Linked DNA regions of Homo sapiens: region 1 is linked to region 2. Evidence: promoter capture Hi-C in 16 types of primary human blood cells and fetal thymus (Javierre and others, 2016). All regions are on one chromosome and are shown on one strand. Each heading gives the region's core, a stretch centred on a gene start or on the middle of the fragment in contact. The rest is flanking DNA. Distances are from core to core; before and after follow the strand shown.

Region 1 (2,864 bases), core at 283-2,782, 190 kb after region 2:
AAACTTTCCCACTGTGGCCTCTGGAACTCCTTCCAGAAGGAGCAAAATCCCCTCCCTCCCTTCTTCTTTGAATGTTCCCTTCACCTTCTTGTTTTACTGAAACACGGATCTTTCCCGAGGATACCACTTTCATCTCCAACTTTCTGAATGGTGACTGCTGTTTTCCCCAAATCAGGTCATGCCATTGGTCCCAGAAGTGGGACAGGTGTGCTCCTGGCTTTCATGGTTGTTTCTATTCTCCCGTTCTCCCTAGGCACTCCTAGTTTTGAATCTTGCAGTCATTACATCGTACCACAAACTACCTTTGGCTGTAGTTATCTGTGGGAGCCTGAATCACTCCCCAGTACTACTTGGCGATTTCTAGCTCCTGGCAATCAGATGAAATTCCACTGGGCCAATGACTGTCTCTCCCCTAGATGAATATTTCATACCTTTTCTCAGATCCCACTCTCACTTGCTGACCTTACTATGTAATACACTGAAAAAAATAGAAGCAGCCAGAATATTCATAAACATGCTAACTTTATCTTCCCCACATATCTGTATCTATACCTTCTCTCCTTTTATTTTTTTACTCTGTCACCCAAGGTTGAGTCCAGTGGCACAATCATAGCTCACTGAGACTACAGGCATGTGCCACTGTGCCTAATTTTTTTTATTTTTGTAGAGATGGGGTCTTGCTTTGTAGCTCAGGCTGGTCTCAAACTCCTGGCTTTAAGCGATACTCTCACCTCAGCCTCCCGAAAGTGCTGGGATTACAGGTGTGAGCCACTGTGCTCAGCTTCTTCTCTCCTTTTATAAAGGATGAATTATCTGTGCTCCTAGCAAAGACCAACCCCATCCACTTGTACATCAGACTCTATCTCCTCTCATCTATTCAAGGACACTTCTCCAGCAATTTCCTCCCTCTTTTCTGCATCATTAATTTCTCTTGTAGATTCTTCTCATCAACATGCAAACACATTTGTCAGATCACGTCACTATTCTGCTCAAAATCCTCCAAGGTTTTTTCATTTTAATCAGAGTAAAAGCAAAAGTCCAAATGCTCTGGCGCCCCCTACCTCTCTGACCTCATCTCCCTCTGGCTTGCTCTTGTCATGCCTGGCCTCCTTGCTGTTTCTTGAACACTCCTTCATAACCTCAGCTCACAGATTTTGCGCTTGCTGTTCTCTCTGCCTCGAAAGCTCACCTCCAGATGCCCAGGTAGCCTGTTTCCTCTCTCTCTTCAGGTCTTTGCTCTACTGTCACCTCACTGAAGTCTTCTCCGACCACCTGCTTAAAACTGTACCCCTTCCCACCTTTCCTTACCACCTTTCCCTGCTTTTTATTTCATAGAACTTGCATGGTCATTAACACACTGTATGTTTTATTATTTGGAAAGCTCCACAACGAAGGGACTCGTGTTTCTTTTGTTCACTGCAGTATCTCTAGCATATAGAACAGTACCTAACTATAGCGGATGGTTAGTACGTGTTAGCTGAGTAAGTGAATCAAATAATCACGTGTTGCAGGTGAAAAAACAAAACAAAACCAAAAAACCAAAAATCCAAATTTTAACTGTAATTATTTCTGGCTGATTGAATTCTAAATGTTTTCTGTTTTCTCCTTTGTATTTTCCAAATCCTTTTTTTTTTTTTGAGATGGAGTGTTGCTCTGTCGCCCAGGCTGGAGTGCAGTAGCGCGATCTCGGCTCACTGCAAGCTCCGCCTCCCGCGTTCACGCCGTTCTCCTGCCTCAGCCTCCCGAGTAGCTAGAGCTACAGGCGCCCGCCACCACGCCCGGCTAATTTTTTGTATTTTTAGTAGAGATGGGGTTTCACCGTGTTAGCCAGGATGGTCTTGATCTCCTCACCTTGTGATCCACCCGCCTCAGCCTCCCAAAATGCTGGGATTACAGGCCTGAGCCACTGCACCTGGCCAGTATATTCCAAATCTTTTAAATTAACCATGTATTCTTAAGATCAGGGGAAAAATGAATTGTTATTAAAAAAAATAAGTCTTTGTCATACTCTGACTCAGTAATTCCACTTTTTTTCCTTATTTTTTTTTAGAGATAGGGTCTTGCTTTGCACCAAGTCTGGACAATCACATAGCTTACTGTAACCTCAAGGTCCTGGGCTCAAGCAATCCTCCAGCTTCAGTCTCCTGAGTTGCTAGGACTACACCTGGCTAATCTTTGGCCAAACTAATCTTGAACTCCTGGCCTCAAGAGATCTTCCTGCATTGGCCTCCCAAAGTACTGGGATTATAGGCATGAGCCACCATGTAACTCCACTTTTGAGACTTTGTTCTAATTACTATAACAACTGGAAAAAACCTTCATGCATGAAGACACTCATTACAATTTAATTTATAGTAGCAAAAATTTGGAAGCTACTTAAATGTCCACTACAGGCAGAAAGTAAGGTACTCAGCTGGTGGAATATTCAGCAATGATTTTAAAAAGTGACACAAACAATTTTATAATAATGTGCAAAATTTTAAAAATAACTACAGAATGTTTCTTAACTATAATTAAGACTAGCTTTAAAAAAAGCATTTAGGAAAAAACTATGACAATAAGTAAATTTTTTTTTTTTTTTTTTGAGACGGAGTCTTACTTTGTCATCTAGGCTGGAGTGCAGTGGCATGATCTTGGCTCACTGCAACCTCTGCCTCCCGGATTCAAGTGATTTTCCTGTCTCGGCCTCCTGAGTAGCTGCGATTATGGGTGTCCACCACCATGCCCAGCTAATTTTTGTATTTTTAGTAGGGGTTTCACCATGTTGATCAGGCTGGTCTCAAACTCCTGACCTCATGTGATCTGCCCACCTCGGCCTCCCAAAATGCTGTGATTACAGGCGTGAGCCACCACGCCCGGCCGAC
Region 2 (2,795 bases), core at 7-2,506:
TGACCCCCGCCGCTGTGGGAAATGACGCCCGGGATAACGCACCCAACCCTCCCCCGCCATGAGCAATGCAACACGCACTACTGCTCCTTACACGCCCCCCACTACATGCGGTGTAGCCAACGATGGCGCCCCCATCTCCCCCTCGCCTCGGGCAGTGTAGCTCCCGATAGTGCATCCAACCCATTCCCTCTGCCCCTCTCCTCCCACCGAGTCAACCACCGCCGGCAGTCCAACCCCAAATAGCGCACCCAATCCACTCCCTGCCAGGCAGTGAAGCCCCCCGATAGCACCCAACCCGCACCCCCACCCCCGCCACTGGCAGTCCGCCCCGATAACGCCCCAACACGCTCCTGGCTGTAGGCAGTGTAGCCCATAGATAGAGCCCCCAACCAGCCCCCAGCCAAGGGCAGTGACGCCTCGGATATCACAGCCAACAAGTTCCCTGCCATGCGCACTGATGTCCCAGATAGCGCCCCCAACCCGTACCCCAGCGCGACCAGTGCAGCCACGGATAGCGCCCCCAGCAAGCCACCCCGCGGCTGCGGGAAATGACGTCCGGTAAAGCACCCAACCTTCCCGTGCTGTAGGCAGTGCAGCACCCAATACTGCCCCTAACACGCCTCCCACCACCGGGTTGTAGCCCACGATGGCGCCCTCAATCCGCCCCCGCTCCCACCTCGGGCAGTGCAGCTCCAGATCGTGCATCCAACCTGTCCCCCTCCCCGCCCCCTGCCGCAGGCAGTGAGCCCTGGATAGCTCATCCACCCCGCCACCTTTCTACATTCTGGCTGCGGTCTAGTCTCCCTCACCGCCACCAACGGCAGCGAGCCGAGCCATGCTGCTGCAGGCTTTCAAGCCTCCAGCGTGGGACAGGTGACTCCTCCTCTAACCTGGGCATGGAGCAGATGGGCTGGCAGACGCAGAAGTGCCTGGAATGGCAAGAACCCCTCCCCCCACAGACCGAGGTTATGCAAGTAAGGTTTCTGGACTACATGTTCAGATTGGATGAGAGAAAAACCTCTAGGTCTACTCTGATTGTGCTTTATTTTCACGTTCTGACTGGATGACAGCAAGTCTTAGGATAACCAATCAGAACAAGATAACAAAGCCCGATCAGAGTAGGCCTAGAGGTTTCTCTCATCCGATCAGACTATGTAGTCGAGAAACTTCATTTGCATTAAACTCAGTATATAAAGGATGCCAAGAGGGGTGGCTTGCCCTTCCAGGCTCATCTGCGTCGGCCTGCGTAGCTGCTCTGTGCCCGGCTTAGAGGAGAAGGAGGAGGAGCCACTTGCCGCGCATGCCAGAGGCTAGAGTCATCTACCGCGCATGCTGGAGGCTGGAGCCTACAGTGGCTCACCTCGCTGCTGCGGTTGGTGGCCGCGAGGGTGACTACAGCGCAGCCAGAATGGTGAAAAGGTGGCAGAATAGGTTCGTTATCCCAGGCCGTACTGCCTGTGGCGTGGGGGGCGGGTTGGGGGCCCTATCCAGGGCGTCACTGCCCGTGTTGGGGGGCTGCTTGAGTGTGGTACCTCGGGCGTCACTGCCCGCTGAGGGGAGTGGGGTGGGGGCGCTATCCGGGGGCGCTATCCAGCCTATGGCTGGAGATGGGTTGGGGCGCTATCCGAAGCTGTAATTCCTGCGGCAGTGGGGAGTTTTGGGGGCACTATCTGGGGATGCACTGCCCGCGGCCGGGGGGCGGGGGTGAGTTAGTAGAACTATCAGGTGCTGCAATGCCCTGATGCCCTTGTTGGGGACAGGTTGTGGGGGGCTGGTGGGTGCAACACTGCTGGTGGCGAGGGTGGGTGCTGCTATCCGGTGCTACTCTGCCTGTGGGGGACGGGGGCGGGCGTGATATCCAGGGCATCATTGCCTGCATCTGGGAGCTGGTTGGGGACACTATCCATGGCTGCACTGCCCACAGTGGGGAGCGGGTTGGGGGCACTATTTGGGGCTGCAATGCTGGTGGTGGGGGACGGGTTAGGGTCACTATAGGGTGCTACACTGCTGGCAGTGGGGAGGGGGTTGTTGAGGGCGCTCTCTGGGGGCTACACTGAGACAGGTAGCGGGGGGTTGTTGGGATTGGTACCGGGGCTGGACTGCCCATGGAGAGGGGGTGGGGGCGTTGGTTGGGGGCGCTATTGAGGGCCGGGTACACTGCCTGCGGTGGAGGGGTGGGTTGGGTGCTATCAGGGGTCTGTACTGCCTAGCAGGGAGCGGGTGGGTGTGCTATCTGGGGCTGCACTGGCTGCAGCAGGGGCAGGTTGGGTGCACTATAGGGGGCTACACTGCCCTTGGCAGGGGGTGGTTTAGGTGAGCTGTCTGTGGCCGCACTGCCCGAGGTGGGGAGTAAGTTTGGGTGCTATCTGTGGCTGCACTGCCTGGAGGCAGGAAGTGGGTTGAGGGTGCTATCCTGGGCTGCTTCTCCTGGTGGGGAGCAGGTAGGGGCACTATCCAGGGTTGCACTGCCCGGGGTAGGGGGCGATTTGGGTGCCATATCGGGGCATCACTGCCCACGGCAGGGGTCTGGTTGGGGTCGCTACCCATGGCTACACTGTCTACAGCCACTGCCTACGGCAGGGAGCGGGTTGGGGGCGCTATCCCGGGCTGCGCTGCCCAAGGCAGGGGGTGGGTTGCGGGTGCCATTGGTGCTGCAGTGTCCGAGGCAGGGGCGGGTTGGGGTTGCCATCTGGTGCTACACTGCCAGCTGTGGGGGAGGGTCGGGGGCGCTATCGGGGGCTGCACCGTCCCCCTGGTGGTGGGCAGCGGAGGTGTCAGTGACAGCGGTGGTCAGA

Evidence for each region. Contacts are between HindIII fragments. The CHiCAGO score rates a contact against its expected background, and 5 or more counts as called.
Region 1: a contact is called between a fragment that was not itself captured here and the fragment with the promoter of RFPL2 in region 2, in 1 of 17 cell types (endothelial precursors). The highest score is 5.6, in endothelial precursors.

Annotation. Positions count from the first base shown.
Region 1 is chr22:32,388,830-32,391,693 of GRCh38, forward strand. The region is part of intron 11 of RTCB (RNA 2',3'-cyclic phosphate and 5'-OH ligase); the gene reads right to left. Among named protein-coding and RNA genes, the nearest start is that of RFPL3S, 19 kb to the left of the region's middle. The HindIII fragment of the contact is 3,235 bases long and covers 1-2,864 here.
Region 2 is chr22:32,203,817-32,206,611 of GRCh38, forward strand. RFPL2 (ret finger protein like 2) reads right to left here and starts at 1,257. Exons shown (of 5, transcript NM_001394555.1): 1 at 891-1,257. It overlaps SLC5A4-AS1 (SLC5A4 antisense RNA 1), which reads left to right and starts at 1,299. Exons shown (of 4, transcript NR_149072.1): 1 at 1,299-1,431. RefSeq lists an enhancer at 2,701-2,795. The HindIII fragment of the contact is 11,730 bases long and covers 1-2,795 here.